Regions from separate parts of the Homo sapiens genome. Here all the other regions are linked to region 1. Evidence: promoter capture Hi-C in 16 types of primary human blood cells and fetal thymus (Javierre and others, 2016). All regions are on one chromosome and are shown on one strand. Each heading gives the region's core, a stretch centred on a gene start or on the middle of the fragment in contact. The rest is flanking DNA. Distances are from core to core; before and after follow the strand shown.

Region 1 (3,578 bases), core at 608-3,107:
CCCAGGGGATTCCTGACCCTAGCTGACAGGTGCCCCAGTTAAAACACACCCCAAAGCTAGGGCTGCTGGAACAGAAAACAGCTCCCCTCAAAGGTCTGCAGCAGCCCCTCTGCAGGCACACCGCCTCAGGCTACATATCCTCAAATTCAGGGGATCTTGGAATAACTCGTGCATTGCACAATCCCACTAACAAGTGCGGAAAATTAAGTTACTTTAAAATTACAAACTTGGGCCAGGCGCGGTGGCTTCCCAGCACTTCGGGAGGCCGAACTGGGCGGATCACTTGAGGTCCGGAGTTCGAGACCAGCCTTGACCAACATGAAGAAACCCCGTCTCTACTAAAAATACGAAATTAGCCAGGCGTGGTGGCGCACGCCTGTGATCCCAGCTTTTCGGGAGGCTGAGGCAGGAGAATCGCTTGAACCTGGGAGGCAGAGGTTGCGGTGAGCCGAGATCACGCCATTGCACTCCAACCTGGGCAACAAGAGCGAAACTCCGTCTCAGGAAAAAAAAAAAAATTACAAACTTGAAGATTTAAGCCAACCTTTCATCACACTTGTGTTCACGTGCATATTTTTCCATTGTAAATATGACACAACCCAAAACCTTCTAATCCCATTGTTTTTGAAATCTACCTTGAGACTGTTACAGTCTAAAGGACACCTCATGAGTACAACTACCTCATCTGCCTCTCATCTTGCCAGCATCTTAATCCTGTGTGACTTTCTCTACATTCACCTAAACTTAACCCTTGCTCATTTGCACTCAGTCACCGCTCCAAGGCCAAGGGGAACCGTTCAGAGAGAACCCCCAGCGGGAGGGCAAGCCCCACTCCTAGCCGGGCCACTCCCCCGCTCCACACGGCATTTGGGTCTTTCTGACATTTTCCCCCACGAATGCAAGACACCGGGGCAGCCTCTGAGGGGGCAGCCAGACAGCCCCGGACCGGGCTGCGGAAGAAAGAGCGTGGCCTTTGTTTACTGCGGTGACCTTAGGCGTAGAGGAAGCCGACGCCCGCTTCGCGGCCCCAGCCCTACCCCCTCCCCTCCCACGGCCCGCTGCCCCCACCCCCGCCCTGCCCCTCCCCCAGGCCCGCCTCCCCACGCCCCACCCAGCCCTTCCCGAGTCCGCTCCCCACGACCCTGCCCCTACCCAGGTCGGCTCCCCAGAGACCATGCCCCACCCCGGGTCAGCTCCCCTATCCCCTCCTTCCCCAACCCTCCCCTCTCCAGACCCTGCTCCCCCGACCTGGTCCTGCCCCTCCCCCACGTCCGCTCCCCACTGCCCTCCCCACCCCTGGCCGCGCTAGCCTAGTGGCCGTTGGGTTCTGGCCACGATCCGGCGGTGCCGGGACTTGCGCGGAGACCCCGCGGGGGCCACCACTTCCTTCCGCGATCGCGCTTGGTCTTGGCAGCCGCAGGGCCCGGGTCTTCGGGCGGCGGGCGGGGGCGGCGGGGCCTCACCGAGATAGATGTCTCCGAAGGAGCCGCTGCCGATCTTCCGGCCCAGCCGGTACCTGTTCCCGACTCTCAGCTCCATGGCGGCGGCGGCCCGATTCGCTCCTGCCCTCCCGGCCGCTTCCTGGGTCTGAACTCTGGGAGGCGGCGCCGCTGCTGCCGCTACTGCGGGTCCGGCTCCCGGCTCCGCCCCCCTCACGGCCCCGCTTTCACCATCGCTTTCCTGTCGCCCCGCCGCTCCCAGCGCCTCAATACGGGGCGGATGGGACAGTCCGAGCGCCGCCGCCGCTGCTCCGGCCCCTACCGGTCCCGCTTGCCCTCTCCCCGCCGCGGATGGACTCGGATCTTCCGGGCCTAAATCCCCTTTCAGCTGCCTAAAGGAGCCGCCGCCATCGCGCTGTGACGTCACTTCCCCTAGCAACCCGGCGGGGCGGGGCCGCGGCGCTCCAGGGGCGGGGCCGGGCGGGGCGAGCGCTCCAGGCCTCCTCCCGACCCTGCGCCGTGCCCAGCCCCTCTGCCCTCCTGTTACCCCGGGACCTCGGGCCGCCAGCCCCTTCCACGTGCAGGCTCCTGCTGCTCTCGCGGGGGCTTTTCGTGTGTCCCCCGAGATGTCGAGGAAGCCAGGTGAGTTCCTCGCGACAGGCGGTGCCCTTTGCAGGAGGGGACAGGTAGCTGAGGCGTGGACAGAGTGACAGGCCAGGCTCAGGGGACACAGGTGAGACCCCCTCACTGGGCTGCCAGTTCCCGGGCTTGGGGCATCCCAGTACGTCAGCGTCTGCGGCCTTACCTCCTGACACCTAAGGCCAGAGACAGAGCAGGCCCGCGCCCTGGGAGGTCCTGATGTCCAGCCTGAAGATTGAGGACAAAGCCACCACCTTTCACAAAATGAGGCCAGACCACCTGCCTCCCTCCAGTCCCTGCGGCCTGGAGACGGAGTCAACATTCTTATCTGTGTTGGATCTGAATGTTCCTCCTTGCAAAGGAAACAAGGAGTGGACGTTCAGGCTGATGGCCAGCTTCAAAGATCGGGGCCTTTGATTCCCATCACTGGGAAGAAAGCCCTTCAGACAAGCCCCCCCAGGCTGCAGGTGCATGGGGACCTTGAAGAACCCGTCCCCATGGTCCCACGTCCATGTGTCTCGAGACCTGTCGCATCCTCGCTGAAACTCAAGAATGTGAAACAGGTGAAGGTGTGTTTTGACGCATTAGCATACCAGGGCTGTGGTGTGGGCACCGCCGTGTGAGTGAGACAGCAGCCTCAGCCCGTCCAGGTCACTGCAGAAGAGGAAAGCAGCCCCCACAGGCCCCACAGTGGTGCTCGCCTTTCTCCACCCCCCAGTCTTTCCTCTCCACCCCTCAGCTCCAAACAGCTGGAGGTCAGGTCGGGGAGACGGGCGTCCATTCCCGAAATTACATAGCAGGGCCTGGAGACAGGAGATGCCGCCGGCCAGACCACCATCAGTCACTAATGAGGGATGGGCAGTCGGAACTGCCCAGTTTCTGAGTTACAGAAGCCGGGGGTGGGGGGCTGCCAGACTAGTAAAACTGACCTTGTTGGCGGAATCGCTCACGGCTTTTCTGTTGATGAACAGAGTCCAGCTCTCCCACGGGTGGCTGTGATCCTTCTTCCTGGGGAGTCCTGCTGTCCCTGACTAGGGGCACCTGCCCACCTGTCAGCTGCTCCTCCCTCGGCTGGTCCTCCTGGGCTCTGATGGCCCCAACATTTCTAGCTCTTCTCACCCATAGTGCCCCAAGCTTCATGCAGCTGCGGCAGGTACTGTGCCCGTCTGCCTGGCTTTTGTGTGTTTGTGTCTTGACTCTATAACCCGTGCACACGGACTGGGCTGTGGTGTAGTGGGGATGGCAGGAGCCCTGGGAACATGCGGGCTGGGCAAGGTGAGGCAGGCTGATTGCTGTGGCTCCCCCACCACCAGCCCCAGCCACAACAAACTGACAAAGGAAGAGGACAGTGGTACCCTGGAGCCCTGGGGTCAGAGAGAGGAGGACAAAGCAGGTGTGTAGCCCAGGGAATGACAGCACCCCTTCCGAGAAGACAGGGAGGGTGCAGACATGGCCAGGTTCTGAGCTAGAAAACTGTCAGCAGGGGGCTGAAGCTGAGGA
Region 2 (3,578 bases), core at 535-3,034, 250 kb before region 1:
GGCAGGCCCAGCACTGGGGCGGTTGTGGAGGGTGCCTAGGACACAGCCAGCTTTGCCCCATGACGTGGGCGCCACGCCAGGGCTACGGGCCCCCCACTCCCCGTCATTCTCACGCTCATTCTCTGCAATGACCACAACTCCAGCTCTGGCCAGAGCCCCTGGGCCTCTAGTTGTCAGGTGGGCTTGATAGAACACATGACCTCCTGGGGTGTGTACCCAGTGCCCCGTCTCCGGCAGTGGCCTTTTGGCTACTTTAACCTGGTGTTCTCACAACCACCCAGTGAGGTGGCCCAAGCCTCAGTGACTTTCTCTTTCTGAATTCCGGCAAGAATCTTCAACTCCACCACCAGAGTTCCCCACACCGACACCCCCCGCCCCCCACGCCTGCTGCCTTGGGTGATAAAGAAGGGCCTGATTCAGGAGAAACAGAATTCTCCCTGCTTCTACAGGGCTGAAGTCCTCCCTCCAGGATGGGTTCACAAGGGCCTGAGACCCTCCCTTCCCAGGCCACAGAGGCCCACGAGGCCCTGCTGACATCGAGGAAGCTCGGTGCCCCAACCTTCAGGTAGAGCAGTAGAAAGGTTCAGAAACCACTCTGCCTGCACCGATGGGGTCCTCTGCACATGGCACCCCCAGAGAGCTCCACTTCCAGGAACAGGGAAGAGCAGGGCACGCCCTCCAGCCTGGGCGGATCCTGGCTCAGACGGCCTAGGTCTGACCCTAGCCCTGCTGAGTCACTTAACGCCCCCGTGCCTCAGTTTCTCCACTGGCAGGTGGGGTTAATCCCTGTCAAGTGTGTGTAACGTGGAGCACCGAAGAAACCACGCGTTCCTAGCCCAGTGCTGGCGCCCACCGGGGAGCAAACAAAAGGGAAACCACTGTGCCTGGCGGCTGGGGTAGGTCCTGCCGGCTCCTCGGGCTGGACGATCTCACTGTCCCCGTCCTGGGGCCTCATCTCCCCTTAACAAAAGACCCCAGGCTCAGGGCGCAGGGCGGCGGCCCAGCTCCTCCTCTCTCTTCGCCGGCTTGGACTCCGCCGTGACGGCGCCCACCCCTGCCTGTTTCTGCAGACCCTCTCCACCTTCCCGCAGCCCCGGCTGCTCCACGCCCCCTCCTACCAGCTGCGAGACACCAGCCCACGAGGGCGCGGGGCGCGCGGCCCGGCCGGAGATGGAGTCTGAGAACGGGCCCAACCTCAAAGGCACAGGGGGCGGCGCGGGGGCTGGCGTCTGGCCCTCACAGTGTCACGCGTGAGGTCGGGACGGAGCGTCCGCGCCTGCCTAGCCCCTGCCCTCCGGCCCTCACCTTCCGGAAGCCGGATCCAGCTCCTGCTCCCTCCATGACCGCAGCCTCAACGCGCGCCCACCGGAACCCCGCCCCGCGCCTCCAGCCAATGAGACCGGAGCGCGCCCCCGGAGCCCCGCCCCGCGCCCCTAGCCAATGAGTCCGAAGCGCCTGCTCTCGGAGCCCCGCCCCCACGTCTCAGCCAATGAGCCCGGAGCGCGCCCTCCAGCAGCCCCTCCCTCACGTCCCGCAGCCAATGAACTTGGAACGCGCCCTCCCGGGGCACCACCCTCACGACCCTCAGCCAATGAGCCCGGAGCATGCCCTCCCGGGGCCCCACCCTCATGCCCCTAGCCAATGAACCTGGAGCGCGCTGCCCCCTCTCAGCTTGCGGCCCGAAAGGCGCGCCAGTTCCTTTGTTCTCATTGGCCCGCACCAAGCGCTGCCTGCGCAGAGCCTGCTAGGAGTTGTAGTTCCCGCGGCCTCTCCCGGCGCGCCTTGTTCTTCCTGGATACTGAGGCCCCGACGCGGCTGTCGCGAGGGCGGGGGTCGGGGCTGCAGGCGGGGCAGGGCTGGGTGGGGGCGCGCGACGCACCTGCCTGCTTCCTGCACGGGTGGTCCCCAAGCACTGCGGGGCCCCAGCCCAAAGCGGACCTTGACTACCGCCCAGCCCCGCGCTCCCAGGACCTCCCGCCCGCGGAGCCCACTCGGATTGCTCTCCGCCCGGGTCGGCGGAGGCCCCGTCTCCTGTACCCGGCGCTGGGACTGCTCCGCACCGCGCGGCTCCCTTTCAGCAGCTGCGGGAGCATGCGGAGGAGGCCCTGCCGGCCCCGCGGGTCATGGAGGAGTTCCGGCGCTCCTACAGCCGCCTGTGCAGGGAGAGTGGGGCCGAGCCCCAGGAGGCTGTCCTGCAGCAGCTGCACCAGCTTCCCAGGGGCCGGCTGGACCTGGCCACGCAAAGCCTGACGGTGGAGACCTGCAGGGCCCTGGGCAAGCTGCTGCCGAGGGAGACGCTGTGCACGGAGCTGGTCCTGAGTGACTGCATGCTCAGCGAGGAAGGTGGGCAGGCGCGGCGGGGTGGATCCCTCTGCTCCTTAGCTGCCCACACCATTGCCTCGGCAGCCCGAGGTCGCTTCCTCTCCAGGCTCTCCAATTTCTGTGCCGTAGTTAAAGCGAGCAGGGGCGCCCCTTCCTGCACCTGGGAGTAGAGGGCAGTTCCTCTGTATGACGGGGGAGAGGCCTTAACATTCGCGGTCTTACCTGGTTCCCCGCGTGCAGAGCCGGCTTGGTGCCTGGCAGGGGCTGCAGGTGTTTCAAACATGACTTCGCAGCGAGACTCTTGGCCAGCGCCAACCCAGACCATCGGGACAGTTGTCCCTTCCTGGGTCTAGGGAGCTGCCCTGAAAAGGGGCCCACGGGGAGGGCCTTGGGGTCAGCAGGGGCAGAGAGTGACCGCCGGCCCCCCTTACACAGGGGCCACACTGCTGCTCCGAGGCCTGTGTGCCAACACCGTGCTGCGCTTTCTGGACTTAAAGGTGAGATACCTGCACTCTTGAGTGTCCGAGTGTGCCACCCAAGGGCAAGAGGAGAGGTGGAAGATGCCAGGTCTCGGGGGCCTGGGGTCTGGGCAGGTGGCTGGAAGCTGTCTGTGAGTCCCCAGGCCGCTCTCTGATGGCCTCCTGTGTGTGACCATCTCCAGAGCAAGAGTTCACATTGGCAAACAAGCCGGCCCTTGGAAGCCCCCTGAAGACAGGGAGCCCAGGAGCTGAGGAAGGCTGCAGGGTGCACCCCAGGCTTGTCCCCTGGCTGACCAAGGCCCTTGGGGCATGGGCGGGAATTCAGAGCCAGTCAGGGCACGCGAGTGACTACCGGCCTGTTTCTCTCCTAGGGCAACAACCTTCGGGCTGCAGGGGCCGAGGCTCTGGGAAAACTCCTCCAACAGAACAAGTCCATTCAGAGGTGGGTGGTGGTCCCGACCCCAGGCCCTGTCTCTGTGTGGTTGAGGATTGGCCCCGAGCACATGCTTCTGCAGCCCAAGAGTTCCCCATTGCCAGGTGCCCATGTTTCACATACGTTGGCAGGGGTAGGCAGAGGCTCCGGCCCATCAGACCCCAAGCCCACACCCGTCCCCAAGCCCTGGACCCCACGGGCTAGGCAGTCCCCTAGGTGAACACTGGCTTCTGCCCCTCCTGCAGCCTCACGCTGGAGTGGAACAGCCTGGGCACGTGGGACGATGCCTTCGCCACCTTCTGCGGGGGCCTGGCGGCCAACGGCGCCCTGCAGCGGCTGGACCT
Region 3 (3,578 bases), core at 354-2,853, 230 kb before region 1:
AGAGGCACATGCCAATGTGAGCACAAGCACTTGGGCATACACACAGGGACACACACAGGCACACATGGGCATAGACACACATGAGCATTCACACGGGGACACAGGCATACACGGGTGTAGGCACACATGAGCATGCACATGGGGACACACACAGACACACACGGGTGTAGACACATCAGCATGCACATGGGGACACAGGCACACACAGATGTAGACACACACATCAGCATGCACACGGGGACACAGGCACACACAGGTGTAGACACACATGAGCATGCACACGGGGACATGTGTGTGCACCCGGGGACACATGCATGCCATGGCACAGCAGCCACACAGGACACACACACACACACGCACACACGGGCATGCACACGTGAGCACACATGGCAATGCATGGACCAGGCAGCCACACAAGTGCACACATGGAGCATATGTGAACATGCAGGCCTGAGCATGGGGGTGCATGCACTGCAGCTGACAGGCCCACAGACATGCGTGTATACACATATGTATCCACACCCCCCACAGGCATGCACAAGTGAATATGTGTGTAGACACACAGTCGCACACGGACACACACGCTCTGGTCCATGGTGGCAAAGAGGACCCTGGAAATCAGCAGCTTCGGCTTCGATGTTGCTCTCTGTGAGGATCCCTGCTAGGAGTCAGGGTTGGCCAGGACCCTGTCCCTGGGCTCAAGTCCTCCTGCAGGAGAGCCACCCTCAGGAGGGGACAGACCCTGGTGCTCCCTGAAGCTGGGCCATGAGGCTGAGCTTGGGGGAGAGCAGGTGAAGGCGGCCAACGTGGTTACAGGTCTTGGGTGGCTGCTGGCCTTCCTGGCTGAGCCAGGTTTGCACCTGGTGCTGGGAGCTGGGCCTGAGCCTTGAGCTCTGGAAAGCAACCATAGGTGGGGGCTGGGGAAAGGCTCCCGCTCCAGGAGGAAAGCCAAGGGCTCCCTAAGGCCATATTGATTCTTCTGGACAATGAGGGGGTCAAAAAGACCTAAGAACCCCCAGCTCCCATCTTCCACGGGACAGCTGGCCGGTCCTTCCAGCTCTCAGGATGGTCCCATGTGGCGAGGCAACAGCAGGGGCCACTGTTCCTAAGACGACCGGATGGGGGTGGGGCCCTCCTGTTCGCGTCCGGCCTTCTGAGCCTCTGTAGTCCCTACAGAGAGGAGGATATGGGGCTCAGGCTTCCCCGGGAGCCCAAGGCCGGGAGGTATGATCGACTCTGCGGGTGTCTGTGGGCTCAGTGCTAGGCCCTTCCTGCCATAAGCACCCCCCGCCGTGGAGGAGCATTTGAGCTCACGGATGCTACAGAGAAAGTTTCCTACAGGGTCTCCTCTGAGGGCCATGGAAAGCCATGTGTAGACACTCAGCCTGCCCCCAGAGCCTTTGGTGCCCCAGGAGTAGAGCCAGGAGCCCTCCCCGCCACCTCCATGTGCCCTGTGCCTGGGCGCCCAAGCCTGTGGATCCCCCAGCATGGGCTAGGCAGGTCCTTCATTGCTCAGACCCCAGGCTTTGGGAGGTCGCATGTTTTGCCGTCTGCATAGCGAGGACGTGCTGGGTAGGAAAATGAACTCCAAGCCACGGCCTTCCTGGCCATTCTGTTGTCACCCGTCGTTTCCTTCACCTGCTGTGAAAGTGCAATCTTGCTTCGCTGCAACCTCCACCTCCCGGGTTCAAGCGACTCTCGTGCCTCAGCCTCCTGAGTAGCTGGGATTACAGATGCCCTGCTAATTTTTGTATTTTTAGTAGAGACAGGGTTTCACCATGCCTAGCCAGGCTGGTCTCAAACTCTTGACCTAAGATGATACGCCCGCCTTGGCCTCCCAAAGTGCTGGGATTACAGGCATGAGCCACTGCACCCGGCCAGTTCTTTTTTTTTTTTTTTTTTGACGGAGTCTCGCTCTGTTGCCCAGGCTGGAGTGCAGTGGCGTGATCTTGGCTCACTGCAAGCTCTGCCTCCCAGGTTCACGCCATTCTCCTGCCTCAGCCTCCTGAGTAGCTGGGACTACAGGCGCCCGCCACCTCGCCCAGCTAATTTTTTGTATTTTTAGTAGAGATGGGGTTACACCGTGTTAGCCAGGATGGTCTCGATCTCCTGACCTTGTGATCCGCCTGCCACGGCCTCCCAAAGTGCTGGGATTACAGGAGTGAGCCACCACGCCCGGCCAAACCCGGCCAGTTCTTCTTTAAATGTTTGGTAGAATGTACCAGTGAAACCATCAGGCCCAGGACTTTTCCTTGTCAGGAGTTTTTTGATTACTGACAAGGCTGGAGTGCAGTGGCACCATCACAGCTTGCTGTAGCCTCAACTTCCTGGGCTCAAGCCATCCTCCTGCCTCAGCCTCCCGAGTAGCTAGGATTACACGGGCACACCACCGTGCCTAATTATCAATTTTTTTTTTGTAAAGATAAGGTCTTGCTAAATTGCCCAGGTTGGGTTCAGGTGATCCTCCTATCTCCGCCTTGCAAAGTGCTGGGATTATAAGGATGAACCACCATGCCTAGCCTCTTTTTTCTTTTAATTATTATTTTATTATTTTTTAAAATTTTTGTGGGTACATGGGAGGCATATATATTTATGGGGTACCTGAGATGTTTCGATACAGGCATGCAGTGTGACAGACACACATGACGGACTATGGGGTGTCCACCCCCTCAAGCATTTATACTCATTTTAGTATTATTATTTTTTAAATTTTTATTATTTATTTTATTTAATTTTCTTGAGACGGAGTCTCGCTCTGTCGCCCAGCCTGGAGCGCAGTGGCGCGATCTCGGCTCACTGCAAGCTCCACCTGCCGGGTTCAAGCCATTCTCCTGCCTCAGCCTCCTGAGTAGCTGGGACTACAGGCGCCCCCCACCACGCCCGGCTAATTTGTATTTTTAGTAGAGACGGGGTTTCACCGTGTTAGCCAGGCTGCTCTCGATCTCCTGACCTCATGATCTGCCCGCCTCGGCCTCCCAAAGTGCTGGGATTACAGGCGTGAGCCACTGTGCCCGGCCTATTTTAGTGTTATTTTTAAGCGGCTCCACACAGAGCAGGGCCATGCCACAGGCAGCGTGGCCCAGAGTAGCCTCTTTTCTAATGTAACGTTTGCGACTGTAAATATCTCCCTCAGCAAAATGGTATCTCCTAAGTTTTAAGTTGTTTTTATTTGTCTCCAGGTATTTTGTGATTTCTTCCTTGACCCACTGGCTAAGAGTGCGTTGTTACATTTCCACAAATTTGTGACTTTTCCAGATTTCCTTCTGCTGTGGGCTCAGAGATGAAACTTTGTATAATACATTTTATTCTGTTTAAGAGATGGGGGTCTCCCTATGTTGCCCAGGCTGGTCTGGAATTCCTGGGCTCAAGTGATCCTCCCGCCTCGGCCTCCCAAAGTGCTGGGACTATAGGCTCGTGCCACTGTGACAGGGTTTAGTATCTATCTTTCAAAACACACTGAGACTTGATTTGTGGTCTAACATCTGGCCTCTCCTGGACAAAGTTCTCGTGCGCTCGAGGAGAGCATGTGTTCTGCTGCTGTCGGGAGGTGCTCTCTGGACATGTTGGAGCTGGTGGTT
Region 4 (3,578 bases), core at 312-2,811, 230 kb after region 1:
GCGCCCACACCCCCCGCGCTCGGAGAACTCCCCAGTCCCGCCTGAAACGAACGCGGTGCCCTAAAGTGCGGGCTGCAGGCTCTGCCGCTTGACGCGGCGATGATTGAAGGTGCTGCTTTTAGGAGAGAATAGAAAGGGCCTTCTTTCCTTTCCCCCGGTGGATGTAAACGTGCTTGTTATTATGGGGCATTTAGAAAAGCTTCTGTCCACTGTGTATTCTCTTTGGCAACGCTCTAGACACTTTGAGGGTTGCTGTCAGATCTGGCCCAACCTCTCCTATGTGACGGGAAGGATTTCAGGCATTTCAAGTGCCCCGCGCAGTGACTGGCCCGGAATTCCGCGCGTCTTCCCGGTAGCGTTTTTCCTTTGTCTTTGGTAGAGGACTGGGGGTGGGTGGGGGGGTGGGTCTCACACTGTTGCTCACGCTGGTCTCGAACTCCTGAGCTCCGTGGATCCTCCCGCCTCGGCCTCCTACGCGCTGGGAGTGCAGGTGTGAGCAACCCCGCCCGGCCCAGAGCGGCTTAATACCAGCTTTCCAGCGTTGTGATTTCCGGAGAAACGCAGGCTGACTTCCATGTTTACTATTCACTCTTCTTCACTAATGACACCACGTACATTCTGTTCGTGATTTCTGTGTGACTCAAGTCCACAAATCCTTCGTGTGCTATGCGGAGCCTTTGTGATTGTTGAGGGTTCTCAAGATACTCACTGATGGGGCCGGGCGCGGTAGCCCATGCCTGTAATCCCAGCACTTTGGGAGGCCGAGGCGGGTGGATCACAAGATCAAGAGATCGAGACCATCCTGGCCAACATGGTGAAACCCCGTCTCTACTAAAAATACAAAAATTAGCCGGGCGTGGTGGTGTGTGCCTGTAATCCCAGCTATCGGGAGGCTGAGGCAGGAGAATCACTTGAACCTGGGAGGCGGAGGTTACAGTGAGCCGAGATCGTGCCACTGCCCTCCAGCCTGAGTGACAGTGAGACTCTGTCTCAAAAAAAAAAAAAAAAAAAAAAACCGGTATTCATTTATGTAAAAGACTCCCTGATGTAGGTAATGTCGGTCTGGTTTAAAAACCTATACAACCAAACAACATAGGCAATGTTTAGTCTTAGGAAAGACTAACCAACATCAGGTGGCAGTTTTTCTGTTTAAAAAAACCTATTTTGGCCGGGAGTGGTGTTTCACCCCTGTAATCCTAGCACTTTGAGAGGCCTACGTGGACAGATTGCCTGAGTTCAGGAGTTCAAGACCAGCCTGGACAACATGGTGAAACCCCGCCTGTACTAAAATACAAAAAATTAGCGCGGCGTGGTGGCGCCTGTAATCCCAGCTACTCGAGAGGCTGAGGCAGGAGAATCGCTTGAACCCGGGAGGCGGAGCTTCAGTGAGCCGAGATGGTGCCATTGGACTCCAGCCTGGGTGACAGAGCGAGACTCTGTCTCCAAAAAAAAAAATGGTTTCAAAATGTTTTGAGAAGCATCTGTTTTGTCTGATGTGTTTTAGTTGATTAAGTGCAAGTTGCAGGATCGGAATCTTGAACAATAAATCTTCCACTAAAAAGTGTTGAGTGGAATTACTGCTCGTCGTAACAGGTGTAATGAGACAGCGTGGTACTGAAACCAGCAAATTTGTGGGTGTGTCTGTGGCCAGCCCAGTGTGTGTCCTGCTGACTGGACCAGCTGTGGTTTTCCTGTCTGTGACCTTCAGCTCCCTTCTGCATCTTTGCTTTCTGTTTGGTGTGTTCTCTCATAATGTCTGTATCGTCATTTTCATTCTCCATATTTTTTTAGTTACGACGATTCTTTTCCTTCATGGTTTTGACCATTAGTGTTTTTAATTTCTGTTGTGATACAGTACTTTGTCTTGAGCTCCACAATTGTGTAATAAAATAACAATACACTGGCCGGATGCGGTGGCTCACGCCTGTAATCCCAGTACTTTGGGAGGCTGAGGTGGGCGGATCACGAGGTCAGGAGATCGAGACCATCCTGGCTAACACAATGAAACCCCATCTCTACTAAAAATACAAAAAATTCACCGGGCGCGGTGGCTCACGCCTGTAATCCCAGCACTTTGGGAGGCCAAGGCAGGCGGATCGTGAGGTCAGGAGATCAAGACCATCCTGGCTAACGTGGTGAAACCCCGTCTCTACTAAAAATACAAAAAATTAGCTGGGTGTGGTGGTGGATGCCTGTAGTTCCAGCTACTTGGGAGGCTGAGGCAGGAGAATGGCGTGAACCCGGGAGGCGGAGCTTGCAGTGAGCCCAGATCACGCCACTGCACTCCAGCCTGGGCGACAGAGCGAGGCTCCGTCTCAAAAAAAAAAAAAAAAAAATACAAAAATTTAGCCGGGCATGGTGGCATGCGCCTGTCGTCCCAGCTACTCGGGAGGCTGAAGCAGGAGAATCGCTTGAACCTAGGAAGTGGAGGTTGCAGTGAGCAGAGATCATGTCACTGCACTCCAGCCTGGGCGACAGACAGAGACTCCATCAATAAATAAACAAAATAACAATACACCACACATACTGACTTGCGAGTGTGTGAAGGGGTTCTGTCCTGAGAACACACATCTCTTCAGCTACTTTTGCTGTGTTATTAGCAATTTGTGTGTTATTTCTTCTGGAACTTCCAGAATTTCTCAGGACAATTGCATATGTTTCAGATGTGCAAAGCCTTGATGTGACTTCACACTCCAGGGATCACAGTTGGTGCTGCCACAGGCGTGTGCCCTGCAAGCACAGGCATTCCAAGAAATGGTTCACTGCAGCAAAATTTCTGCTGTGGGGCAGGGACCAGCTCCATAGAATCTGCCCTCCAGGAGGGATTTCCCATCCTGACCAGCATTCAAGAGTAGGTTCTCTGCTCACACTATGGGAGTCAGATGTTCGGAGAATGTTCCAGACTGTGTGTTGGGAAGTATTTCAAAGCTTGATCTCCCCAAGCCTTGTGTGCTCCTCTTGCCTGGGGCTAGTGGTCAGGAGCCCCGTGGGTCAATTTCTGGCCAGGTGAGCACGTGGCAGCTGGCCATAGCATAGCTGGGTCGAAGGGACTGCAGAGCCCAGCACAACCCCCATGCCTCCTCCAGTGCTTCCCCAGGAGGCAGGGTGGACACTGCCCTACCTGGGGCCCTATGGCTGGGCCTCAGATCTTCCCAGCCAGCCTCTTTGGCCAGGTGAACTCAAACTCCTGGACTCCAGGGATCATCCCACCTCAGCCTCGTGAGTAGCTGGGACTACAGGCATGAGCCACTGTGCCCAGCCAAAAAAAAAATTTTTTTTTTTTTTTTGAGAGGGAGTCTTACTCTGTCGCCCAAGCTGGAGTGCAGTGGTGTGATCTCGGCTCACTGCAACTTCCACCTCCCAGGTTGAAGCGATTCTCCTGCCTCAGCCTCCCGAGTAGCTGGGATTACAGGTGCTCACCACCACGCCCGGCTAATTTTTGTATTTTTAGTAGAGACGAGGTTTCACCGTGTTGGCCAGGCTGGTCTCGAACTCCTGACCTCAAATGATCCACCCTCCTCGGCCTCCCAAAGTGCTAGGATTACAGGCATAAGCCACTGCGCCCAGCCAAAAGATTT
Region 5 (3,578 bases), core at 339-2,838, 210 kb after region 1:
AACCTCAGGAAAGTGCTCAGATTGTGCGGGCATGTAGTGACACTACAGATGTTGCTATTTATTACGACTTGAGGAGTATAGATTTCTTATATTTTAAAAAGCGTGCAGTTGTTGGGCTGTTAGTTTCTCGCCGGTGAGAGAAGTTGGGCAAGCATGTGGCTGCTCTCCCCTGAGCGGTAGCTGCGTGTCCTGGCTGTAAGGACGCTGTAGCTGGCCAGGCGATTTTGCACGGTGCAGCCTGGGCCGCTGCTCCTGCTGCCTTTCAGTGCTTGTTCCCCTTCACCTTTTTGGGGGACCTGTTACTCCGACTCTTACTTGTCTGTCGGCCTTGCAGGGATGCTCCCATTTCCCAGTAGCCTCCAGGCCTGCAGGTTCCCATGACCCACAGCCGGGCCACCGAGGACGGGTTTTGGGTCCAGCACGAGCTCCTGGTAAGGCCTGGGGAAAAGGTGTTCTGGCTTCACCCTGGGGCGGCAGGGACTCGAGCTCAGCATTCCCTGGTGCGTTACAGGAAGACCAGAGGAAGCAGTAAGGAGCTGACCGTGGATCCCTTCTCTCCCCAGGCTGGGTCCGATACGCCGAGCGGGTGCTGGGTCGCCCCATCACTGCCCACCTCTGCACCGCCAAGTCCCCCCAGCAGGTCATGGGCTCTTTGGTGAAGGATTATTTCGCCAGACAGCAGGTAAGCTGACCTCTCTGGAGGGCAGGAAGGGCAGGTGAGGGAGGACCATGGCACAGGGGCCCAGGAAGGGGAGGTTCCCCATCTGTCCAGCGTGGTCACGGCCCCCCAGGTGAGCAAAAAGGAAGCTGTGGCTTCAGGAAACATCAGCAGTGCTGTTTCTCACCAACGCCCGTCTCTATTCCTCCCTTCCTCTTACAACCTTTTTCTTTCTTCTTAACCTTTTCTGTGGCATCTGGTGGTTTTCCTGGGCCCATTCGGGGTAGAGTAGAAATGCTGCCCACCCTGCTGAGAATGAGGCCCCGGACCTTGCCCAGAGATGCTGCCTGCCTGCTGTTGGGATGCCTCACCCAAGGAGGCCTAAAGTGGCCTGTGCCTGGAGGCTGAGGGCAGCTGTCATTTAGGGAGCCAAACCTGGCCTCTGCCCTGGCCTTTCCCTCAGACCACGGGCATCACATGACTTCCTTAGCCACTTCTGTGAGATTCCACAGTGGCCATGATGCTGTCCTCCTCTTGATGGAGTGAGTCCCGGCCTGAGGCTCCTGCGTGCCCCCTGCCTCGGCCCGTCGTGTTCTCCCTTCCCACAACCCTCTGCGGCCCCCAGGTCCTCCCAGAACTCCCTGATGTCTCCAAGGCCACCCTCAAAGGGACCCTAATCCCATGGTTTATTCTCCAGCCGCTGGCATGCCCCACACTGCTCTTCTCAATCAGACTTTACACCTCCCTCCGGGGAAGCAGCCATGTCCAGGCACTGTGGTAACTGGAGTAGAGGGTAACATCAGGATCTTTCAGACATTTGAAGTCAGCCTAAAAAGGCACGCACATTTGGCAGCCTTGTTATTTTAGCAATAGGCAGTGTTTTCCTTCTATCTAGTTTCTTTCTACCCATAAAGTCATAATTTGGCAAATTATAAACATGATGTCAGAGTATACACGTTCAGTTTAGGCAGGACCGAAAAATGAGCTATGGGACTTTCTGTCCCTTGCCCTGCCCCCACCTGAAGAGAGCCATGTGTTTCTAGGTCTTCCACGTGCTGCCCTCTCCCCTGGATGGAGCCCAGAGCTATGTGTCCTCCTGTAGGTGCCATGAGGGGCAGCCGCAGAGACCCGGCCTCCAGCAGCCTCTCACCTGACCACCTGGCACAGCTGCAACCAGGGGCGGGTTTCCTCTTTTGCTCCGCCCCTGCCCTGAGTGGGTCCTTTCCACCCAGACCTCACCACAGGGTCACTTGGCAACTGCTGGCTCCTGGCTTTGCCACCAGTTCAGGCCCAGCCACAGGCACCTGCTCTGTGTGGACCCAGGAGAGGGGTAGCTTGGGTGGGCATCGCTTGGGAAGATTCAGGAAAGTCTGTGGGTGAAGTAGCCAGCGCGCGCACACACACACACACACACACACTCACTCAGGCCTCCTGCAATGGCTCCATGCTGGACCAGCAACAGCTCCACGCCGGCTGGACTTCCTCTTACTTGTTTTGTCCCCATGTGCACAGGTTCAGGAGGAAATGGGCTCAGCCTTCCCGGTTCTTCCAGGAGGCTCCACTGGCTGGGGGGCTTTGCAGATGTTTGGGAGGACCACACCCAGTCCTGAGGGAGGCAGCAGACAGACATGGATGGAGTGCTGGTGCTCGGTAGAGTTGAAGAGGGGATGGGAGCCAGATGTGGCTACAGCACTTTCATCTGTGGGGCCCGGCCTCAGACCCACAACAGTCCCAGCCCCAAGAAAGTGCTGCATGCAGCCAGGCTCGATGGCTCACGCCTGTAATTCTAGTACTTTGGAGGCCGAGGCGGGCAGATTGCCTGAGCTCAGGAGTTTGAGACCAGCCTGGGCAACACGGTGAAACCCCATCTCTACTAAAGTACAAAAAATTAGCCAGGCGTGGCGGCATGCGCCTGTAGTCCCAGCTACTCGGGAGGCTGAGGCAGGAGAATCGCTTGAACCCGGGAGGCAGAGTTTGCAGTGAGCTGAGATCACGCCACTGCACTCCAACCTGGTGACAGAGCAAGACTCCATTTCAAAAAAAAAAAAAAAAAAAGAGTGCAGCATGCAGTGTCTGGAGGGCAGCAGCAGGGGGCATTCGGTCTCCCATCCCTCTTGTTCTGGGCACCAAGCGTAAGCTGCCGTCACCTCTTCACCAGCCCTAAATATGGGTGCCCCTCTCCCACAGAACCTGTCTCCAGAGAAGATTTTCCACGTCATTGTGGCCCCTTGTTATGACAAGAAGCTGGAGGCTCTTCAGGAAAGCCTTCCCCCTGCTTTGCATGGCTCCCGGGGCGCTGACTGCGTGTTAACATCAGGTGAGAGGTGGGCGGGGGTGCACCTGGGCGCTGGGGTAATCTCCTACTGGCCAGTACACACCAGAGCCAGGCAGATCTGTGTCCCAGAGCCATCTCAGTGCCTGCCAATGTGGTCGCTTGTCTGAAGTTACTGACAGCTGAGGGTCCTAGGGGCTTAACTGCAGGTGAAGAGAAGGGTCATGTTCGATCTAGCCTCCTGTCTCCTCTGTGCATCTTCCTCAAGATAAATCAGGTCTCAGCTGGGCACAGTGGCTCACGCCTGTAATCTAAGCACTGGGAGGCCAAGGCAGGTGGATCACCTGAGGTCAGGAGTTCGAGACCAGCCTGACCAACATGGAGAAACCCCGTCTCTACTAAAACTACAAAAAACTAGCCGGGCATGGTGGCACATGCCTGTAATCCCAGCTGCTCGGGAGGCTGAGGCAGGAGAATCGCTTGAACCCGGGAGGCAGAGGTTGCAGTAAGCCGAGATCGCGCCATTACCCTCCAGCCTGGGCAACAAGAGTAAAACTTTGTCTCAAAAAAAAAAAAAAAAGATAAATCAGGTCCTGGGAGAACCACTTGGGCAGTGTGGTGGCCCTAACTTTACATTACAGTCCATGT
Region 6 (3,578 bases), core at 356-2,855, 180 kb before region 1:
TCTCGCTGGGAGGGGCTGCGTGCTCTGGGAACAGGCCCGCCTCTGGGCCCTGACCCATTCAGTTCAGGGTATTGGCTGGGGTACCCCACTGGAGCCCTGCAGCCCTGGCCTCCCCAGCAGTTACTGGTTTCTGCGCCTGTGTCGGCTTCCACTCGCCTGAGTCTCAGCCTTCCAAGGCTCCTGGAGCTTGTCCCAGGCCATCCCTAGGGCACCAGGGGGCTCACAGTGAGGAGCAGGCAGGGTCACCTGAGATGGGGACAAGGCCTCAGGTGGCCAGCCTGCTAAGGGCCATCAAAGAAATGGAGAGGCAGGGTCCCAAAGCCGGGGCATGGAGGTGGCTGGGAGCCCTAGAGGGGGGTACTCAGCACCCATGCTCACCCGTGTTGGGGTGGGGGCCCGCTGTCCAGGCCAGCCCAAGAGCCACCAGGGCTGGGGAGGGACGAAATGGGGATAGCCTATGCTCTGGGGGAAAGGTGGCCCCTGCCCCACTGTGGACCGACCCAGCCAGTCCAACCCCTCCAGCAGGGTCCAACCTGGAGAACCACTCCTGGCCAGGACACGCAGGTGTTGCCTGGCACCCTTCACCTGCGCGGGTGAACCCACAGACGCTTGCCTCCCCATACCAACCCACACACCACAGGAGGCCCTCCCTGGAGCCCAGGTCCCTAAGACCCGGAACGGGTGCCCAGGCCGCCGGCTCCTCCTCCAGCATGAGGGCTGGTGCGGCCCTGGGGGGAGGGGGCGGAGGCCAGCGCTGGTCTGGCCACTTGCACGAGGCCCCAGGGCCTGATACGCGCGCCGCCCCTCGGCAGTGCGGCCTCCCTTGGGCCGTCCCGGCAGGGAGGCGGCCGCCTTCCCACCCGCTGCGATTCACAGAGGCTTGGCTGCCCCGGGCCAGCTCCAGGCCCGCACGCTGGGTCCTCGCCGCTTGCTATTCACGCGGGGTCGACGGCCAGGCAGGGGGTGGGAACACCGCGGCGCGCCCGGCCTCCCTTCGCCCCGGGCGGGGGCTGCTCGGGACCCCTGCGCTTCGGCCGGGCTGCGCCACGTGATGGGGAGGCCGGTCCCGGCGCGGCCCCTGCGCCCCCCCGTTCCTCCCTCGCGGCGTCCCCTTCGGGCTGGGCCTCGGCTCCGGGGCGGCTCCGGGAGGAGGATGCGGCGGCGCCTTTGTGGGCGCGGGGAGGCCGAGCCGGGGGCTCCTCCAGGCCCTTCAGGGTCCGCGGCCTCCCCCACGGGAAGCGAAGGCGGCTGTTGGTGGCTTTCCCCGGCGTCCTTCCCCCGCCATCCGCCCACCTACTCCGCGGGGCCCCGGGCGCCTCCGAAGGGGCACGAACACCGAGACCCGGACAGGCCGCCCAGGCGACCCCTGGATACGGGGCCGGGCCACGCGCGCCCCGAGAGCGGAGGATGAGGAGCCGGGCCACCCCGGGAACCCCGGGCCCAGCCCCGACCACGACCCGCGCCCCGGCCCCAGCGCCGGCTGCTCGTACCTGGTGAGGGCGCGGGCGGCGGTGCGGGCGGCGGAGAGCGAGGCTGGAGCGCGGCGGAGCGGGAGGCTGAAGCGCGGCGGAGAGGGAGGCCGGGGCCGCTGCCGTCTCTCTGGCTCCCTCTAGGCCGGCGCCGACGCTATTTAAACCGCGGCCATCCCCGGGCGGCCACGCCACATGGGCTGACAGCTTGGCTGCGCCGCCCAGGCCAATGAGCGTCGGGGCTGCGCCCCGGGACCCGGCGCGCCGCCGCCGGTGGGGTGATGCTCGTGCGCGCCGCCGCCCGAGCCGGGACCCTGCGCGGGAACGCGCCTGGGGGGGTGGGGCTGGGACTGAGGAGCGCCGGGGGCGGGGCGGGCGGGAAACCACCGCCCCCCGACTTCCGCCTCCCGCCCCGCGGGCCCCGACGCGCACGCGGCTGCGACCGAGCCCGCGGCGCGCCTCCCGAGCCATCCCCGACCCCCGTGTCCGCCGGGGCCACGTGTGCGGGATGGGAATGCTTGGGCCACACTGGGGACTACCCCGTGGCCACACCGGGGGTCCAGCCGGCTGCGGCGGGGCGCTCGGACCCACAGGCGCGCGGAAGGACGGACGGACCCGCGTGCCCGCACTTCGGCCGCCGACTCCACGCCGCCGTCGCTGCCCGCGCGGAGCTGGCTGAGGGCGCGGCGTTGCGCGGCGCGGCGGCAGCAGCAACCAATCGGGCGCCAGGGGTGTTCGCACCGGCCCAATGGCGGCGCGCGGGTGGGCGTTGCTAGGCGATAGGGTGATGGGCGGGCGGCGGGGCGGTCCCGGATGCCTCGCGGGCCGCGGCGCAAGTGCGGGCGTTGACCCCGGCCGCGGGCGCCCCGGCCGGGGTTACTGCCGGTCATCGCAGCGCATCCCCGGTTTTCCTCGCGGGTGCGGCGGGGAACCCAGACCCGAGACGGACGTCCACCCACCCGACGGCCCCTCCTTAGCAGCTTCCCGGGGACCCGGACGAGGCGCAGGGCCGAACGGGCGAGCGCACTCCAGGCCGCTGGAGCTCGGCGGAGGGGAGGGGCGCGGCCACGTGGCGAGCGGAGTCGGCCGGGACACCCACCTGGTGTGGTGCGGACAAAGGGAGCCGCTGCCCCACTTCCCAGGGCGGAGGCTGCGAGTTTTCCAGGCGCGCACCCACGGGCGGGGGCTCAGCCCGGCCCTCGCGCGCTCCCTCCCTCCCGAGTGATTCCTCGAATCGTGGCCCCTTGGGCGGCCTGAGCCCTGAAGCGCGGCCTCCCTTTTCTGACCGCTTCGCGCTTGCGGGGCCAGGCACCCCATGGGGGGCAAGCGGGCCTTGTGAGGCCACAGGTGTCTCTGGCTGCGTGTCCTACTTTGAGGGCTCAGCAAGCCCGGGCCGCTGAAGGGGAACCGGAGACTGGGGCCCCCGGCCCCTCTGCAGGTGTCCCGCTTCCTTCCTCTCCTGAGAGCAGGCCTGAGGGTCAGGCGGCCACTCCGCGTCTTTTCCCTTCTGGGGCTGTGGTTGACGCACGGTGGGACCGAGGGTCAAGGAAGGACAAGGGAAGACAGGGCCGGGGCTGGCCCCGCACTGCTGTCCCCACTGCGGGGGTTCTTCTGATTCAGGGTGAGGCCCTGTGTCAGCCTCAGGCGTGCGGGCACGCAGCTCCGGCTCTCCATGCTCCAAACCTCCCAGGTGGCCCTGGCTGCCAGTGCTGGTGATCAGCGGCCAGCGGGGCCCTGCTCTCTGCAGCCTGTCGAGGGCTGGGCCAGCTACAGGGGAGCCCTGGCTGGCTCCCAAGGAGGTTGGAGACTCGTCCAGCACCCTGAGGGCTTCCACAGAAAGTGAGCGGCAGCGGCCGGGCTTGGTGGCTCACGCCTGTAATCCCAGCACTTTGGGAGGCCAAGGCGGGCAAATCACGAGGTCAAGAGTTGTAGACAAGCCTGGGAAACAGGGAAACTCCGTCTCTACTAAAAATACAAACATTAGCCGGGTGTGGTGGCGCGTGCCTCTAGTCCCAGCTACTCGGGAGGCTGAGGCTGGAGAATAGCTTGAACCCAGGAGGCAGAGGTTGCAGTGAGCCGAGATTGCACCACTGCATTCCAGCCTGGGCG
Region 7 (3,578 bases), core at 426-2,925, 160 kb after region 1:
GGGACCACAGGTGCGTGCCACCATACCCGGCCAGTTTTTTTTATTATTTGCAGATACCAGGTCCCACTATGTTGCCCAGACTGGTCTCGAACCCCTGGCCTCAAACAGTTCTCCCACCTCAGCCTCTCGGAGCGCTGGGATTATAGGCATGAGCCATTGCACCTGGCCCCATTTTGAGTTAATTTTTTTTGTTCATTTTCCTTTTTGTGAAGAGTGGGGTCTCACTATGTTGCTGGGCTGGTCTCAAACTTCTGGGCTCAGGTGATCTTCCCGCCTCTGCCTCCCTAAGTGCTAATTTTTTTTTTTTTTTTGAGACAGAGTTTCACTCTGTCACCCAGGCTGGAGTGCAGCGGCGTGATCTCAGCTCACTACAAACTCCACATTCCAAGTAGCTTCAGCCTCCCGAGTAGCTGGGATTACAGCGCCCGCCACCACACCCAGCTAATTTTTGTCTTCTTAGTAGAGACGGGGTTTTGCCATGTTGGCCAAACTGATCTCGTCGAACTCCTGACCTGAAGTGATCTGCCCGCTTCGGCCTCCCAAAGTGCTGGGACTACAGGCATGAGCCACCATGCCCGGCCTCCTTTCATTCTTACAATATATTCATAGTAGTTTTCTTGAAATATTTGATAAATTCTGCATGTGGGCCCTGAGAGTCAGAGTCTGTGAACTGGATCCTACTTTCCAGTTCATTTGCACATCTCAAAATTTTTGGTTGAGAACTGAACATTTCAGTTAATACATTATAGCAAAGCTGAATGTTTACTCTTTTCCCCAGTGGCTGGTGGTGGTCTTTTTGTTGTTTTCTAGCAAATGGCCTGCATTTAACCTGCAGGACCTGCCCCTGGCTGTGTGCACTCACTGATGTCTGTGCTGAGATTTTTTGGTTCTTATTTTTACATTTTAGCCTGGCTTCCTAGGGTCATCCCTCTGTCTTCATAGTTGGTGGTCAGCCAAGGGTTTGGGCAGAGGTTGTGCTCCCACACCTTGAGCCCACAGACCTCCTCCCCTTGCCACGGGGCTGTGTGTGGGCGGTGGGGGGTGCATCCCTAGGTTCGCGCAGTTCCCACCTGGCCCTCACAGGTCCCTGCACGTGTGTGTGGCCCCCGTCAGCCAGGCCTGAGGAGAGTGTGCAGCACCATCTGGCTTTCTGTTTCCAGGGTCACCCATTAAATCTGCAGCCAGTCTTGGCTCTCCCCAGCAGGGACTGCACCCTCTGGCAAGCGGAAGACAGGGCCTCTTCTCCAGTTGCTGCTTCTACTGACAGCGCCCCCACAAGGGGTGGGTTTTTAACCCAGCCTCAAGTTAAGTCTGCCCCTTTGGCAGCAAAGCTGTGGTTTCCACAGTGAGGGGGAAGGGGGCAGTGAGTAGCCCTAGGCCGAGGCCACAGAGTCTCTGTTCTTAGGCAAAGTTAGAGTGGTCTTTCATAGATAAACATTTTTCTGTTTTTTTCTTTTCAGAGACAGGGTCTCACTCTGTCGCCCAGGCTGGAGTGCAGTGGTGTGATCATGGCTCACTACAGCCTCAACTTCCTAGGCTCCAGTGATCTTCCCGCTTCAGCCTCCCAAGTAGCTGGACCACAGGCAGGTGCCACCACACCTGGCCACTTTTTTTTCTTAAACCGATTTGGTTTTTAAAAAATTTATGGCTGGGTGCAGTGGCTCACGCCTGTAATCCCAGCACTTTGGGAGGCCAAGGCGGGCAGATCACAAGGTCAGGAGATCGAGACCATCCTGGCTAACACGGTGAAACCCCGTCTCTACTAAAACAAAATACAAAAATTAGCCGGGCGTGGTGGCGGGCGCCTGTAGTCCCAGCTACTCGGGAGGCTGAGGCAGGAGAATGGTGTGAACCTGGGAGGCAGAGCTTGTAGTGAGCCGAGATCATGCCACTGCACTCCAGACTGGGCGGCAGAGCAAGACTCCATCTCAAAAAAAAAAAGAAAAAAAAAAAAAAATATATATATATATATATATATATATATATATATATATTTTTTTTTTTTTTTTATATATATATTTTTAGTCTGGGCGTGGTGGTTCACGCCTGTAATCCCAGCACTTTGGGAGGCCAAGGAAGGCGAATCACTTGTGGTCAGGAGTTCAAGACCAGCCTGGCCAACATAGTGAAACGCCATCTCTACTAAAAATACAAAAATTAGCCAGGCGTGGTGGCACATGCCTGTAATCCCCAGCTACTGGGAAGGCTGAGGCGGGAGGATCACTTGAACCTGGGAGGCAGAGGTTGCAGTGAGCCGAGACTGTGCCACTGCACTCCAGCCTGGGCAACAAAGCGAGATTCCATGGGGTTTCACCAGTTGTCCAGGCTGGTCTCAAATTCCTGAGTTCAAACATTCTACCCACCTCAGCCCCCACAAGGTGCTGGGATTACAGGACTGAGACTCTCTGCCTGGCCTAATTTTTTTGTATTATCTGTAGATTTGAAACAGAAGCCCCAGGTGGGCAGAAGGAGATCAGTCCAGCTCCTCCGCCCCCAACGCGAACTTCTCTGTCTCTCCGCAGTTTGTGCTGAAGCACACGGCCTTCGCCCACCTGCGGGAGGTGGGCTCCTTCCCCTGCACCCTGAACCCCCACGAGGCAGAGTCCCTGGCGCTGGTGGGCGCCATGATTGACCAGGTCCTGGAGCTACACCCAGGCGCCCAGCGGCTGCACATCGGGTGTGATGAGGTGGGTACTGTCACCCCAGCTCTGTGCAGGACACTCTCCCCTATCATGGCTTGTCCTTTTAAATAGGAAAATCTTCCAGGCACTGAGGCCTAGAGACAGGCTTGTTGTTCCCCTCAGGGCACCCCATCCAACATCTTCTCCGAGTGGATGGGCGGCCTGGCACGGGACAGCCTGCGGAGCCCGAGGGAGGCACCCTCGTGTCAGACGCGTCCAACATCTTCTCCGGGTGGATGGGCGGCCTGGCACGGGACAGCCTGCAGAGCCCGAGGGAGGCACCCTCGTGTCAGACGAGACCACCCCGGGCGGCTGGGCTGGCGGAAGCCTGTGGGTGATGGGCAGGTTCACGCCCCAGGACCAGCAGTGAGCATAAGTCAGGGTGTAACTCGAGGGACACCCTTTTGTTGCTGAGAGGAAGTTCTGCATTTGGACCCTGAAGCACCCAATGGAAAAGGTGGTCCCCAGGGGGTGCCAGAGATGTGCCCCCTCCAACCCAGTGAGCCCCCACCCTTGCCCCTCCTGCCACTCACTGGACTCCAACTCAGTCAGGGCCTGGGCAGGATGTGGAACTGAAAGGGGCGGGGTTGGTGCCCACGGGGCTGGGAGGTTCTGCAGGGCTGTGGCTCACAGGGAACCCGAGCTGAACATTTTAGCCCCAGAAGTTTCCTTTTTTTGAAGGAAACCTGAGTATGTAAAATACACTTAAGCTTTACCATTCTAACCATTTTAAAATATAGGCTGGGTGTGGTGGCTCACGCCTGTAATCCCAGCACTTTGGGAGACCAAAGTGGGTGGATCACCTGAGGTCAGGTGTTTGAGACCAGTTTGGCCAATGTGGTGAAACCCCGTCTCTACTAAATATACAAAAATCAGCCGGGCGTGATGGCGGGCGCC

What was found. Contacts are between HindIII fragments. The CHiCAGO score rates a contact against its expected background, and 5 or more counts as called.
Region 2: the fragment with the promoter of LRRC45 here is called in contact with the fragment with the promoter of CSNK1D in region 1 in 6 of 17 cell types (neutrophils, total CD4 T cells, non-activated CD4 T cells and 3 more); the score reaches 8.9 in neutrophils.
Region 3: a contact is called between a fragment that was not itself captured here and the fragment with the promoter of CSNK1D in region 1, in 2 of 17 cell types (naive CD4 T cells and naive CD8 T cells). The highest score is 7.5, in naive CD4 T cells.
Region 4: a fragment that was not itself captured here is called in contact with the fragment with the promoter of CSNK1D in region 1 in 1 of 17 cell types (activated CD4 T cells); the score reaches 5.3 in activated CD4 T cells.
Region 5: a fragment that was not itself captured here is called in contact with the fragment with the promoter of CSNK1D in region 1 in 1 of 17 cell types (activated CD4 T cells); the score reaches 5.7 in activated CD4 T cells.
Region 6: the fragment with the promoter of FASN here is called in contact with the fragment with the promoter of CSNK1D in region 1 in 7 of 17 cell types (neutrophils, non-activated CD4 T cells, activated CD4 T cells and 4 more); the score reaches 10.9 in neutrophils.
Region 7: a contact is called between a fragment that was not itself captured here and the fragment with the promoter of CSNK1D in region 1, in 1 of 17 cell types (activated CD4 T cells). The highest score is 5.8, in activated CD4 T cells.

Annotation. Positions count from the first base shown.
Region 1 is chr17:82,271,843-82,275,420 of GRCh38, forward strand. CSNK1D (casein kinase 1 delta) reads right to left here and starts at 1,858. Exons shown (of 9, transcript NM_001893.6): 1 at 1,464-1,858. The coding sequence starts at 1,539. LOC124904089 (a long non-coding RNA gene) reads left to right here and starts at 1,936. Exons shown (of 2, transcript XR_007065953.1): 1 at 1,936-3,231. RefSeq lists silencers at 1,258-1,307, 1,358-1,547, 1,788-1,997. The HindIII fragment of the contact is 9,296 bases long and covers 1-3,210 here.
Region 2 is chr17:82,021,521-82,025,098 of GRCh38, forward strand. It overlaps LRRC45 (leucine rich repeat containing 45), which reads left to right and starts at 1,785. Exons shown (of 17, transcript NM_144999.4): 1 at 1,785-2,343; 2 at 2,758-2,819; 3 at 3,173-3,243; 4 at 3,480-3,578. The coding sequence starts at 2,124. It overlaps CENPX (centromere protein X), which reads right to left and starts at 1,358. Exons shown (of 5, transcript NM_001271006.2): 1 at 1,306-1,358. The coding sequence starts at 1,341. RefSeq lists enhancers at 1-285, 1,835-2,758 and a silencer at 1,049-2,098. The HindIII fragment of the contact is 18,366 bases long and covers 1-3,578 here.
Region 3 is chr17:82,042,583-82,046,160 of GRCh38, forward strand. No RefSeq gene overlaps it. Among named protein-coding and RNA genes, the nearest start is that of DCXR-DT, 6.5 kb to the left of the region's middle. The HindIII fragment of the contact is 7,461 bases long and covers 1-3,578 here.
Region 4 is chr17:82,497,658-82,501,235 of GRCh38, forward strand. No RefSeq gene overlaps it. Among named protein-coding and RNA genes, the nearest start is that of TRX-CAT1-8, 4.7 kb to the left of the region's middle. The HindIII fragment of the contact is 2,729 bases long and covers 198-2,926 here.
Region 5 is chr17:82,478,237-82,481,814 of GRCh38, forward strand. It overlaps NARF (nuclear prelamin A recognition factor), which reads left to right. Exons shown (of 11, transcript NM_012336.4): 6 at 564-682; 7 at 2,846-2,975. Among named protein-coding and RNA genes, the nearest start is that of TRX-CAT1-8, 15 kb to the right of the region's middle. The HindIII fragment of the contact is 4,536 bases long and covers 1-3,578 here.
Region 6 is chr17:82,096,631-82,100,208 of GRCh38, forward strand. FASN (fatty acid synthase) reads right to left here and starts at 1,606. Exons shown (of 43, transcript NM_004104.5): 1 at 1,491-1,606. RefSeq lists an enhancer at 1-830 and silencers at 699-748, 809-1,018, 1,039-1,228, 1,299-2,778. The HindIII fragment of the contact is 59,862 bases long and covers 1-3,578 here.
Region 7 is chr17:82,431,136-82,434,713 of GRCh38, forward strand. It overlaps HEXD (hexosaminidase D), which reads left to right. Exons shown (of 13, transcript NM_001330542.2): 5 at 2,523-2,687. Among named protein-coding and RNA genes, the nearest start is that of HEXD-IT1, 7.6 kb to the left of the region's middle. The HindIII fragment of the contact is 3,427 bases long and covers 1-3,389 here.